Regions from separate parts of the Homo sapiens genome. Here all the other regions are linked to region 1. The links are contacts of gene promoters, found by promoter capture Hi-C in human tissues and cell types (Jung and others, 2019). All regions are on one chromosome and are shown on one strand. Each heading gives the region's core, a stretch centred on a gene start or on the middle of the fragment in contact. The rest is flanking DNA. Distances are from core to core; before and after follow the strand shown.

Region 1 (3,569 bases), core at 603-3,102:
TGCTTGTTCCCTGGCATCCCAGGGTCAGGAGTCCTGAAGCTCATCTGGCAGCTGCTGCGACAAAATCTTTCTGATGGCTCAAGACATTGGCCTCTATGATCTCATTTACATTCATTGTGTGTGCATTAGAAGGGGAGATATTAATACAAAAGCATGGCTATAGAAAAGGGATGAATTGTTTTTATTCAAACACAGAATGGTCAGTAGCAGACCCAAGGTTGTACTACTTGGAGATAAAAGTCTTTAACTCTGGGCCCTAATGCTGTCCCTGCTCCCCACCTGCCTGCCAGACTTCCACCTCCTCCTCATCTGATCCAGCAATCCAGCACACACAGGCTTGGCTGGGATGTGTGCAGAGAGGAGAGCCAGGCTCAGCCAGCTCCTAGCTTGGTGCCCCTGTAGAATGGTGCTTTAGAAATACGTGCTGCACAGATGAGCATGTGACTTAGTCCATGCCCTCCTCTCCTCATTGCCTCCAGCAACTTTCCTAAAGGGAAGGTAAAGTCTTGTCATCCCCCTGCTCCCTTCCCTACAGTGTGGAAATGCCTGGGAATTTCTGCCCTTGGACCTCCAAGCCACGCCCCTTGGGAAAGTGCCAGGATAGTGGTGGGGTGCTCAGAGGTGGGGACTCCCAGTTACCTGCTTTGGGTGACTCTGGCCTTAGCTGGCCCTGAGGTGGAGGCCGCCTGGGAACTGTGGGTCAGAGGAAGTCAGCTTCAGCTCCCTCAAATGTGGGGATCTTCCATCCCCAAGTGACCCACTCAATCTTTGGGGCTGTCGTGCTGTGAACTGGTCAAGAGAAGTATATGATCCAACTCCTGACTCAAGAATCTTGCCTGCTTGATGGATGAAGAGGGAAGGCGGATGGAACCAGCTGAGTGGAACCAGCCACAGAGCAAGCACGAAGTGACAAATCACCCAGGGACGAAATCATGCAGGCAGGCAGGTGGGCAACCTGAGTCCATTTCATCAGCCATTGTTTAATTTATTCTTGGTTGTACTTTCTGCTTTATTTCCAACACAATCAAAACCAGATGTGTGCAAAAGTCACGCTATCACCCAGCACAGGATTACCTAAGATCTATTATAATGCAGCTTCATGCCCATTACAGTATTCCCATGCCCCTCACAGGGCAGTGTGCATCTGTTTTAGTGCTACCTAATGTCTGTTAGGTGCAAGCTGGCCCACACATGGCTTCTAGGCAGAACAGTCTACAAGTGACAGCGTGACCAGAGAGCAGAGACAGGAAGGAGGCCCAGACATGAGTGTGGGATGCTGCAGAACAGCAACAGGATGCTTCTGCTATCCCCAAATGTTATCTCAAATACCTCAACGTCAATGCTTTCTGTTCCATGTTCCTCTTCTCCCTGGACAGCCCCTCCTTCTGAAAGTCAGAACTGTCTGCTCTTGAGCTTGCCTTGAGGGAAGGAAATAATTTAGATAAGCAGAGAGGAAGACAGGCAAGGGATGTGGTGGGGCAAAGGCGGAGATGTATCTTCACAGGTCCCTGTCCTCAGCACCCAGAATCACCCCTTCCCTGTAGGAGGGAGCTGATAGAAAGAGGGGATCTCCATCCAGGAGCCACCCACCAGGCAGCTGGAAACATTTGCCAACAGCAGGTACACCTAGGGCTCAGCAGAGGGTTGGGTGAGAATGGTCTTGCCCAGTTTGTGCCACACTGAGCACCGGCTGGAGGAGGAAGCGGACAGAATGCCATCTGGACACAAGTGCTCCCTCACTGCCTGGGCCTGGGTCGCCTCAGGCTTTTGTGTCAGATCAGCCACTCCCTCTACAGATAATGCTGCTCCAGGCAAAGAGGCTTAGGTGGGTCTCCAGGGCAACCGCAGCTCAGGAGCTGGCCCGCCTCCATGGTTCATCAGGGAAGCTGTGGCTCCAGCCTCGCGGGATACATACACGCATACACACACACACACACACACACACACACACACACACACACACACCTACACACCCCACAAACAATAGTCCAGGCTGGATCTCTCCTCCTGTCTCTTCTCTTGGTAAAACTTCTCAGAGAACCAAAGAGAGGCAAAATTTGAGGCCAGCCGGCAGCAGCAGAGAAGCTGAGGGAGACTTGAGGATGTAGACTGCCCTGCCCTGCTGTGGCTGCTCAACTTTCTTTTTTTTTCCTGAAAATATCCAGACACTCTCTTCTCCCAGACTGGGAAGCAGAACGCAGGCCCCCTGCTGTGACGCTGCACCTGAGCAGAGGCTGACCTCAGAGGTAAGATGGAGGTCTCCCCAGGAGACAGTGTCTTCCCCACCCGCACCCTGGCACAGCTGCACCTTTGGAAGTTAGGGCTGAGGCTTGAAGCTGGGTGGGGTGGCCTCAAGGGGTGTGGCAGGCTGGGGAGCCTAGAAAGCCGCCCACCTCCGGGACCCAGATGGCCACAGGAAGGCCCCTTTAGTCCTCATCAGTTCCACAGGAGTTGGAACCGATGAGGGTCCTGCAGCTTCCTCGGGGCTATAGCCTGCTCCTTGTTTTGTAAACCTGTGGGAAGCCATTGTTTTTGCCTGTTCTGGAACTGCAAGCCTCTCGGGGAGGACCCAGCTCCAGCAGGTTCCTTTCTGCCTTTATAGAGTGGACACAGGCAGGGGGAAGGAAAGCGAAACCCAAATCAGAGACTCTTGCATGGGTTTGCGAACTGTGATTCGAGCATCTACTAAGTCCAAGGCACAGAGTCAGGCTCTGGGGATGCAGCAGCACCCAGGGCACGAGGGTGATGGATGTGCCTCAGTCCCCTCGAACATGGAGCAGTCTGTGCATCCCTGATAACATGCCCAGGAGAGTGGGCCCAGGCAGATGGGTGCAGGGTGGGGCGCCAGGGAGATCGGGCCTAGAAGGAAAGTCCAGCTGCGACCAAGGGATGAGGGTCAGTCCCCTCCCACTGTGGTCAGTCAGACCTGTGTACACGCCCTCTCCTGGCTGCACCTCTGCCTCAGAATGGGAAGGACTGGCTGCCATTCACTCATTCATTCAGGAACCGCTTATCAAGTGCTACCATGTGCAGCAGATTCAACCCACATTCCTCTCGCCCTTGCAGAATTCATAGCTAGGTGGGGAAGAGATAAATACAACCCAAAGCGTGAGAAACGTGTTTGCTAGATGCCATGGTGATGGGCCCTTGTGTCAGGCCCTGGTGGCTGGGATCAGTGCTCCATGGGTGGGGGGAAGTGAGGGGCCGGCTGCAGGGAGGAGTTGTCTCTTGAGGGGTTCCCGACAAATGAGCAGATGTCTGTCAGGTGGGCAGAGGATCCACAGGTCAGGCCCGCTCATATCTGGCTTGGTGGATTATAGGTTGTTTTTCTGTGATGCCAAAGAGAAATAAGGTCAATTTGCAATCTGTAAAGTTGGACTTGGGCCTTATCAAACACAGAGCTGGGAGGCAGATTAGCCAGAGAAGCACCTACTCTCTGCCCCCACTGAGAAGTCTCTGCCCAGACTGAGCGTCTGGCGTCAGCAGAGCCAGCCTGCCCCTGCAGTGAAGCTGCCAGTGCTCTGGGACAGCCTGACTCAGGTGCTGCTCTATGCCTGGGTCCGGCGGGT
Region 2 (3,569 bases), core at 667-3,166, 240 kb after region 1:
CTCACTGCAACCTCCACCTCCCAGGTTCAAGCAATTCTCCCATCTCAGCCTCCTGAAGTAGCTGGGACTACAGGAGCACACAACCACACCTGGCCAATTTTTGTATTTTTAGTAGAGATGGGGTTTCACCACATAGTTCAGGCTGGTCTCGAACTCCTGACCTCAGGTGATCCACTCGCCTTGGCCTCCCAAAGTGTAAAGGTGTGAGCCACCACGCCCAGCATATATATCTAACATTTTAAAGTTGAAGTACAAATGCTATTTCTCCACTATTATCGTTTCCCCCCGTTATCAGATGGATGTTTAAAGCTGCAACTTTATGTTAAAAAAAAAAAAGAGTAAAGAGTAAGTAATTGGGGCCTGCACAGAGTTTCAGTCTTATTGCCCAGTCTGGAGTGCAGTGATAAAATCTCAGCTCACTGCAACCTTCACCTCCTGGGTTCAAGTGATTCTGCTGCGTCAGCCTTCTGAGTAGCTGGCATGCCCGGCTAATTTCTGTATTTTTTTAGTAGAGACAGGGGTTTCACCATGTTGGCCAGACTGATCTCGAACTCCTGACCTCAGATGATCCTCCCACCTTGGCCTCCCAAAGTGCTGGGATTACAGGTGTGAGCCACCGCACCCAGCCTCAGAATATTTTTGAAAGAGTACATCAAAACCGGTTCTCTCTGAGGAAGAGGTGTCACAGTCTGGGATGGAAAGGGGGACTTTATCTTCCTCTGTATTTTTTTGCATGGTTGGACTCTTACCATGTATAGGTGTTACTGTTTCAAGGAATAAGTGTTTAAAGAATCAACTAATAGACAAAACACAGATATTTATAGTAAAAAAATTAACATAAAAGTAAAGTTATAACTAATTGAAGTTAGAAAGTAGAATGGAAGAGGCAAGATGGAAAGAGGATGGGGTGTTAGTATTCTCATTTTAAAAAATAAAAAAAAAATTCAGCAGGGTAGTCATTGTGGACTATACCTTGATTCACCAGCTGTACTAGGCACGTAGGAAAGGCCTCAATTGAACTCCTGTTTTATTCATATTATTCAGGTTAATTATGATTTTCTTTATGCTACTAGTTATGCTGAAGAGTTCATTGATGTGTTCTTTGGTTTTCCTTCATTATTACTTTTTTTTTTTTTTTTTTGAGACTGATCTTGGATCTTGCTCTGTCACCCAGGCTGGCGTGCAGTGGCATGATCATAGTTGACTACCACCCCAAATTCCTAAGCTCAAGCAATCCTCCTGCTTCAGCCTCCTTCCTGAGTAGCTACGACTACAGGTGTGCACCACCACACCAAGCTAATTTGTAAAATTTTTTTTTTGCAGCAACAGGGTCTTGCATGTTGCTCAGGCTTGTCTTGAAACCAACTTTGCAAACATTATAACTGAGGAAATTATGACAGTGAAAGAGATCAGACCTAATCAATTCCACCTTCCTTCTAACATTTAAGCTGTCCTTGTTCATTCGTGGGCGTAGGTGGAACTAACTTTGGGAAGGAATTCAGTTCATGGTTTGACTCCGAAACGAAATTGATAATAGTCCTTTTTTGCCTGGGGACCAGTCTGCCTTTGCAGGACTAACAAATTAGCTACAAGGTTAGAAATTAGGGTTTAGGGGCCATGCAGCTTCTGGCTCCAAGAGTCTGAACCTCCCCAAATTGCTCCTGGGGATAACATCACTATTGTAAAACCTAACATCAGTGCTTGAGATATTTTGCAGACCCTGCACTGGATGGATCAGCTGACACCACCCATACTGGTAATCTGGCTCAACCAGTTCTGCCATCCTACCTAGGAACAGAAGACAGCAAGAAAAACTCACTTGGCCCTCCCCTACGATTACATCTCCAACCTGACCAATCAGCACTCCCCACTTCCCAAGCCCCTACCCCACAAATTGTCTTTAAAGACTGATTTGAGTAATAATAAGATTCCAGTCTCCCACACTGCTGGCTCTGCGATCATTACGTTTTCTCCATTGCAATTTCCCTGTCTTGATAAATACCTGGCCTCAAGTGATCCTCTCTCCTCGGCCTCCCAAAGTGCTGGGGTTACAGGTGTGACCCACATCATGCAGCCTAATTATTACTTTAGAAGTGTTGGTCTTAGAATAAGTTTAACTCCAAAATAGAATCAAGTGATCCTGAGCAGCATGGCCAGGGGACTGCCTAACATTAAGCCAGCTCAAGTTGGACACAAACATAATAGGGAGAAGGAACTGTAATTTTTTAAATTTTAAATTTTTAATTTTAATTAATTTTTTTAGAGCTACTGATCCCCACAGCCAGAGAAATCATGTAATCTTAAGAGCTGACAGGAACTTTAGAGGTCTGGTAACCTTCTTTATCTTCACCTCCTGGAATAGTCACCATTTCTGAAACTAGAAGTTTAAACAGATCTTCATTTGAATATCTCCATTTAAACAGATACAGAGATAGATAACTGCATCACAGAGTAGATCATTTCTTTCTTTCTTTCTTTCTTTCTTTTTTTTTTTTGAGACAGAGTCTCACTCTTGTCCCCCAGGCTGGAGTGCAGTGGCGCGATCTCGGTTCACTGCAACCTCTGCCTCCCAGGTTCAAGCGATTCTCCTGCCTCAGCCTCCCGAGTAGCTGGGATTACAGGCGTGTGCCACCACGCCCAGCTAATTTTTGTGTTTTTAGAAGAGATGGGGTTTTGCCATGTTAGCCAGGATGGTCTCTATCTCCTGACCTCAGGTGATCCGCCTGCCTCGGCCTCCCGAAGTTCCACTGTGTGAGCCACTGTGTGAGCTGCTGTGCCCGGCTGATCATTTCATTTTTGAAAATGTTTAAGTCCTTTTTTTTTTTTTAGACAGAGTCTTGCTCTGTCACCCAGGCTGGAGTGCAGTGGTGTGATCTTGGCTCACTGCAACCTCCGCCTCCTGGGTTCAAGCGATTCTCCTGCCTCAGCCTCCCGAGTAGCTGGGACTACAGGCATGCGCCACCACAGCCGGCTAATTTTTGTATTTTTAGTAGAGACAGGGTTTCACCATGTTGGTCAGGCTGGTCTTGAACTCCTGACCTTGTGATCTGCCCACCTCGGCCTCCCAAAATGCTGGGATTACAGTCGTGAGCCACCGCGCCTGGCCAAAAATAAAAATGTTTAAGTCTTAGAAAACATATGTGTTTTTTTTTGTACCCAAAGTTCAACTACATACAAAAGAAACCCCAAACAGCAGTGTCTTAAACAAAATGAAATTTTATTTCTTTTCATGTAAAAGACGTACAGAGGTAGGCAATATTGGGCTGACATGACAACTGCAATGAACTGGTGAGGAATCCAGACTTCTTCCATTTTGCCCTCCACTGTTCCTGGAGCATAACTTTTGCCCTTGCAATCCAGAATAGCTGCTAGAGTGCCAGTCAGGACCCTGCTACATGCAGCAGAACAAAGGAGTAAAAGCCAAAGAGCACACCCCTCTCATTAAGGAGACTTCCCGGCAGTCTTGCAAACCACTTATGCTGATATATCAACATCCACAGCCTAGTCACATGATCCATCTAATCTCAAAGGAGGTTGGGAAATTTCAAAGTGCCCCACTAAAAAGCAGG
Region 3 (3,569 bases), core at 607-3,106, 200 kb after region 1:
AATTCTCAAAACCACTCTGTGAGGTAAGTACAATCAGTTCTGCTATAACATGATAAATACATTAAAAGTCACTGAACTAGCCAGGTACAGTAGCTCATGCCTAAAATCCTAGTGTTTTTGGAGGCCAGGAGTCTGAGACCACCCTGGTAATATAGTGAGAACCTGTCTCTATGAAAAAAAAAAAAAAAAAAAAAAATTAGCTGGTCATGGTGGCATGAACCTGTAGTCCTAGTTATTCAGGAGGCTGAGGTGGGAGGATTGCTCAAGCCCAGGAGTTCAAGGTTACAGTGAGCTGTGATTATGCCAATGCACTCTAGCCTAGGCGACAAAGCAAGACCCTGTCTTAAAAAAAGGCTGGGTGCGGTGGCTCACGCCTGTAATCCCAGCACTTTCGGAGGCCAAGGCAGGCGGATCACGAGGTCAGGAGATCAAGACCATCCTGGCTAACATGGTGAAACCCCGTCTCTACTAAAAATACAAAAAATTAGCCGGGCGTGGTGGCGGACGCCTGTAGTCCCAGCTACTCAGGAGGCTGAGGCAGCAGAATGGCGTGAACCCAGGAGGTGGAGCTTGCAGTGAGCTGAGATCGCGCCGCTGCACTCCAGCCTGGGCGACACAGCGAGACTCCGTCTCAAAAAAAAAAAAAAAAAAAAAGAAAGAAAGAAAGAAAAGTCAGTGTGTGCTATGCAAAATTCATAATAAAAACCACAGGGCTTGTAGGGTAAAAGAGGTTGGGACACAACATTAAAAAACTTCAATGACACATAAGACAGGAACCTAATAAAAATGGCAACACAGTTTTACACAATCTAAATGATTTGTTTTTAATCCATAAATGCTACAACAAAGACAGTACTTTACCTTGAAAAAAAACCTGAAGGTTGCTTATGGAAGTGGGAGTCAAAATGGTTGTAGTTTGTGAATTATTATGCAAGTGGTAGGAGGGTTACTTGAAATCAGATGAAAAGTTTTAACACCATATATGTATGGTTCATAACATACAGTGAATTGAGGTAGCTGCTACATGTTTGAGATGTGTGTGCGCTCAGTTCAGCTGGGTACATTTTGTTTTGCTGACAAAAATCATACATAAACAAACAAAAAATTCATGTTATGCTCAAATTTTTCCAGAGTATATTAACTGCATTAGGACAAATCCACATTTTCAAAAAAAGTTATAGCAGAACAGACTCTACTTATATTATAACAGTTTTACAGATGAGGAATATAAGGCACAGAGAAGTTAAGAAACCTTCCTAAGGCTAGGAGATACAACCTGAATTTAAACTATACCAAGTTTTTAACTTTTACTCTACTAGCAATATTATTAGTCTCCATTTAGACTGTTAAGGGTTAGGATTGTTTACTTTTTTCCTCTGTTTTTCCCCCCTAGTGTGGACAACGAAATACTTATAATTTATGAACTATTTTCACTAGAGATCTTAAAACCACAGCTAAAATGCATAAAATCTAGGATGGTTCAAGGGTAGTCAGCTGGCCATGTTAGATAGACATACAGAGATAAAATGTAAAGTCTGAATTCTCGAGGATTTCATAGACTAGTGGGGAGATAAGTAAACATAAACCTATGATAAACGCTAAAACACCTAACATAGACTTGGAGAGAGAAAGAGAGAGAATGAGAGAGTAAATGTGCTTCTATATATGTTGATGAACAGGTGGTGGGGAAGATTAGGGAAAGTGTTCCAAAGAAAAGGACAGCTAAACTGAGTTTTAAAGAATTAAACTGGCAGACAAGCTTGGGAGGAGGGACTGCATTCCAGGCAGAATAACGCTTAGGAAGACAGAAAAGCCCTAAGGTGAAAAGGCAAGAAGTTAGACTGGGGCCAGACCGAGGAATTTTAATTTTGCCTAAAGATTGAAGGAAACCTAAAGGATTTTTAAGCAAGGGAACAAAATGACCATATATGCCTTTTAGAAAGACACTTCTGGTAGTAATGTGAAGAAGAAAATAGGGTAAAGAGGATGGAAATTAATTTAACAATCCAGGTGAGAAATAATAAATAATTAAGAAAACTTTCATTAAAACTGTAGGAATGAAGGAAGGATGGTAGTGGTATGCAGAGATTAAAGAAATACCTTGGAAACAAAATTAAGACTTATTTATTTATTTATTTATTTATTTATTTATTTTTGGAGACAGAGTCTCACTCTGTCGCCCAGGCTAGAGTGCAGTGGCGCGATCTCGGCTCACTGCAACCTCTGCAGCCCGGATTCAAGCTATTCTCCTGCCTCAGCCTCCTGAGTAGCTGGGATTACAGGAGCCTGCCACCATGCCTGGCTAATTTTTGTAGTTTTAGTAGAGACGGGGTTTCACCATGTTGGCCAGGCTGGTCTTCAACTCCTAACCTCGCGATTCACCTGCCTCGGCCTTCCAAAGTGCTGGGATTACAGGCATGAGCCACTGCACCCGGCCAAGACATCTTTGTAAATACCTGATTGTGGAGAATTAGGGGGAATTGAGGCTAACTGGTCACTGGCTTCAGTAATTGAGAGTATGTGGCACTACTCACTGAGACAGAAAATACAAAACGTGGAACAGATAACTATGGTGAGTGTGGAAGAACTCAGTTTGAACACTGCATATGAGATGTTTGTGACATAAAAGTAGCAGTGGTTAACAGGATTTGTAAACCCATGAGTGCAAACCTTTACTGTGTCACACATCAAATGAATAACCAAGTTAGGAAGTTAAAGCTTAAAGTGCCTTCTAAAAAAATCAATAAAAATAGTCCCTAAGTGTAGGAGTAGTAGTACTGAGAATGAAGTATGAATACAGGTGACTGAGTACACTTTATTCCTTTATGTTTTTAGTGCATTTAAAGTATTACAGCAAATGATTTAGAAGTTTTCTAAAGAGGATTGCTGTGGTTTGGAAGTTAGGCATCTTGCATTCATAGTTTGACTAAAGGCTAAGCATTTAACCAAATATGAGATGCGTTGGTGGTATAGTGGTGAGGATAGCTGCCTTCTAAATATGTACTATAAACACACATACTCCAGAGAGTCACAAAGTCAAGTGAAAGAAATTCCAAAAAGAAAGACATGGCTGACAGTGTCAAACATTACTGAGTAGTCAAAGGAGCTAAAAACCAGGAAGGCAGCATTAGATGTTGGCCACTTGTTCATAAGTGATTTTTTTTTTCTACTGTAAACCTTGAACTCCTAGGCTCAGGCGATCCTCTCTCCTCAGACTCTCTTGTGTTGCTAGGACTACACTACAGATACACACAACCACGTTTGGCTATTTTTAAAATTTTTTTTATAGAGATGAAGTCTCACTATGTTGCTCAGGCTGGTGTCAAACTCCTGGCCTCAAGTGATGTTCCTGTCTTGGCCTCCCAAAGTGTTGGGATTACAGGCATGAGCCACCATGTCAGCCCATAAATGATCTTCGGAGAGGTGTTTCAGTAGAACTGGAATACCATACGGGGCAGAAGCTAGATTAGAAAGGGTTGGAGAATAAGTTTTGGTAAGAAAGCAGAGGAAGCAAATGTGGCCTATGTTAGAGAACCAGAAAAGCAGTTTGGGTGAATAACCAGGACCAA
Region 4 (3,569 bases), core at 671-3,170, 170 kb before region 1:
TGCACCTGTGACTAGCCACTGCACTCCAGCCTGGAAAACATGGCAAGACCCCATCTCAGACAAAAACAAAAACAAAATAAAACTATCCCATTAGTAAGACAATGTTGACTTACAAATGTAAAGGTATTTGTGGTAATAAGAAGGTGGATAGAGTTGAAACAGTGGAGATAAGGTCTAAAAGCAATCCAGTTTGCTTTGAAGCAGAAGCGACGTATGAAGCGGGAAGTCACAGGACCCTTGGAAGGCAGTGCATCTGTGTGCCAGCCTTTCCTATTTCTTCTGCCTGGAGCACTCTTCATCCAGACAGCCCTGTGGCTTCTTACTTCAGAAATGCTGTATGAGGCTTTGTATCATTACACCCAGCACCCAGCACCCAGCATGTCCCTGTTTCCAGAGCTATTTTTCCTAATAGCACGTATTACCATCAAATATTCCCCACCAGTACTTGTTTGTTTGTGTTTGGTTTATCTCCTCCTACTAGAATAGGGCCTTTGTTTGGTTCACAGTGGCCCATCCTATGAGCTCAGTAAATATTCGAACATATTTCCTTTAACACAAAAAATAAAAGGATTCTAGAATCTGTAAGCCTCCAGCCCCCAGTAATTCTGTCAGCAGTTAATAGTGTTGCCACTTTAAGTAAATATGATTATTATTTATTTTTTCCATGTAAAGAATAGTTTACAGTTTTTACTACTCTTACTTGATTTACCTTTTCCACACTGAATTTGTTTAGATTTTTTGGAAACAGATTTCTCGTCCATTAAGATGCTTTGAACTAAGTGTTCTTGAACATTTAACCAAAACTGTAGGTGTTCTCTATTTAAAAAAAAAAAAAAAAACAAAGACAGAAAAAAACCTCTGCTTCTACACTTTTCTGTAGGTAAGGTGTTCTGCATAGAATGGCACTTATTTTCAAGGACAGAGATAAATAACATTGATTTCCAAAAGTTTTATGTTGTCCATAATACTCAGTGTGTTTAAGAGTAAAATTGATTGTTGGTTGTTAAGAGAATAAAACTTATGTTCCTTGAATTTTGGCACATTCCAATATTATTTTTTCAATGCTGTGGATTAAAAGGCTGATTTCTGCAAGTCCTACACCCCTAACCTCCTATCCCAGAGAAAATAAAACAGGCACCTAGATTTCAAATGTGAGCCATAAGAGCAAATACTTTTTGATAAGTATAAGTATGAAGGAGTTGAACTCTGTTCAAGTAACTCAGAGCCCTTTTTCTTTTTCCTTCTAAAGAACTTCTTAATCTTCCATCCTCAGTAATTAAGAAGAAAGTTCATTTCAGTGGGGAAAGTAAAGAGAACATCATGAGGAGTGAGAATTCTGAGAGTCAGCTCACATCTAAGTCCAAGTGCAAGGACCTGAAGAAAAGGCTTCACGCTGCCCAGCTGCGGGCTCAAGCCCTGTCAGATATTGAGAAAAATTACCAACTGAAAAGCAGACAGATCCTGGGCATGCGCTAGCCAGGTAGAGAGACACAGAGCTGTGTACAGGATGTAATATTACCAACCTTTAAAGACTGATATTCAAATGCTGTAGTGTTGAATACTTGGTTCCATGAGCCATGCCTTTCTGTATAGTACACATGATATTTCGGAATTGGTTTTACTGTTCTTCAGCAACTATTGTACAAAATGTTCACATTTAATTTTTCTTTCTTCTTTTAAGAACATATTATAAAAAGAATACTTTCTTGGTTGGGCTTTTAATCCTGTGTGTGATTACTAGTAGGAACATGAGATGTGACATTCTAAATCTTGGGAGAAAAAATAATGTTAGGAAAAAAATATTTATGCAGGAAGAGTAGCACTCACTGAATAGTTTTAAATGACTGAGTGGTATGCTTACAATTGTCATGTCTAGATTTAAATTTTAAGTCTGAGATTTTAAATGTTTTTGAGCTTAGAAAACCCAGTTAGATGCAATTTGGTCATTAATACCATGACATCTTGCTTATAAATATTCCATTGCTCTGTAGTTCAAATCTGTTAGCTTTGTGAAAATTCATCACTGTGATGTTTGTATTCTTTTTTTTTTTCTGTTTAACAGAATATGAGCTGTCTGTCATTTACCTACTTCTTTCCCACTAAATAAAAGAATTCTTCAGTTTCCCTGTAGTTATGTGTCTTGCATTTGTTGGTCTCTTAGTTGATGGGAGTTGTGTTTATGATTTGTAGGTCTTCATTGTAGGGTACAGAAGGAAACATGGATCTGATGCTCAAGGGAGTGGCATTCCAGTCCTAAACTGTATGGCGCTTTACCTCCCATCTCATTAATCCATGTATGTAAGCCAGTGGTCCTTAACAGGGTGATTTTGCTCCTCAAGAGACGTTTGGCAATGTCTGGGGGCATTTTTGATTGTCATGATTTGGGGTAGGGTGCTACTGGCTGCTAGTGGGTACAGGCCAGGGACACTGTAAACATTTTACAATGCACAGGACAGCTGCTGACAACAAAATGTCCATGGGTTTGGATCATAATCCTGAATGATACAATCTCAAATGCGAAAATCCTGAAAGACCAAAATCCCTAATGTCTTAAATCCCAAAAGATCAGAATCCCTAATGTGTGAACTTCCAAAATCACAATCCTGAAAGATTAAAATCCCAGATGTTAAAATCCTGAAAGCCGAATTTGAGGTTAGGGATTAGTGCCGTTTCAGCTGTATACAGGATAATTGCATCATGTTAGGCAGAACTATTACCTTGTTATTGTCTTCATTTGGAAATTAAGTATGGTTTAAGAGATGTGGATGGATATCGAGTTGATAAGGGGTGAACTTGTTGATTTATGTGTCAACTTGACTGGATTAAGGAATCCCTAGAAATCTGGTAAAGCATTATTTTAGATGTGTCTGTGAGGGTGTTTCCAGAGGAGGTTAATATGTGAGTCTCAGTAGACTAGGTGGGGAATATCTTTCCTCAATGTTTAGTGTTTTGAAGATCATAAAAGCGACTTTTCAGGTGAAAAGTACAAGAAATCTCTCCTGCCAAATTATTCAGTTATGTACAAATTCTGCTCCTTCATGAATAGTGCCACGCTTGCCTTAAAAAAATGCCCTTTGTCAGAGAATAAAATTCGACAAGCTGAACGACCTTGTGAACCAAAGACACTTGCTGATACTGAGGTTCCTCCAGTGTTACAAAACTCATTAACCAAACTGTTCTTGGTTAGGGATTTGACTGTCGAAGAAGATAGACTGCTTATATTTACCACTAAATCTAACAGAAAAACTATCGCATGTTTTCATTTTGGCTAGTGGACGGCACTTTCAAAACTATCCCTACTGGTTTTTATCAACTATACATGATTCATGCCCCTGTTGGTTCTGAAGATTCTAGAACTTATCTAGTCATTTAAACAATTATTTGAAGATTTGCTGCACTTTGCAGAAGAAAATAGCTTTCGATTGAATCCCCAAACCATAACAACAGATTTGGAATTAGGTGTGATCAAAGCTTCTAAAAGTGAATTTCAAAGTGTTACCAATAAAGTTTGTTTTTTTTCCATTCAGCCCAATGCATTTGATAGAAAATTAGATGAGTAGATAGGCCAG

Evidence for each region. Contacts are between HindIII fragments. The study calls those that stand out against the background at their distance.
Region 2: a fragment that was not itself captured here is called in contact with the fragment with the promoter of RD3 in region 1 in 1 of the 25 tissues and cell types used here (spleen).
Region 3: a fragment that was not itself captured here is called in contact with the fragment with the promoter of RD3 in region 1 in 2 of the 25 tissues and cell types used here (mesenchymal stem cells and spleen).
Region 4: a fragment that was not itself captured here is called in contact with the fragment with the promoter of RD3 in region 1 in 1 of the 25 tissues and cell types used here (aorta).

Annotation. Positions count from the first base shown.
Region 1 is chr1:211,490,445-211,494,013 of GRCh38, reverse strand. RD3 (RD3 regulator of GUCY2D) reads left to right here and starts at 1,852. Exons shown (of 3, transcript NM_001164688.2): 1 at 1,852-2,246. The HindIII fragment of the contact is 12,360 bases long and covers 1-3,569 here.
Region 2 is chr1:211,248,057-211,251,625 of GRCh38, reverse strand. No RefSeq gene overlaps it. Among named protein-coding and RNA genes, the nearest start is that of RCOR3, 9.5 kb to the left of the region's middle. The HindIII fragment of the contact is 6,428 bases long and covers 1-3,569 here.
Region 3 is chr1:211,291,672-211,295,240 of GRCh38, reverse strand. The region is part of intron 8 of RCOR3 (REST corepressor 3); the gene reads right to left. Among named protein-coding and RNA genes, the nearest start is that of TRAF5, 33 kb to the left of the region's middle. The HindIII fragment of the contact is 4,612 bases long and covers 1-3,569 here.
Region 4 is chr1:211,661,333-211,664,901 of GRCh38, reverse strand. NEK2 (NIMA related kinase 2) reads left to right here. Exons shown (of 8, transcript NM_002497.4): 8 at 1,250-2,130. The coding sequence ends at 1,476. Among named protein-coding and RNA genes, the nearest start is that of NEK2, 13 kb to the left of the region's middle. The HindIII fragment of the contact is 3,568 bases long and covers 137-3,569 here.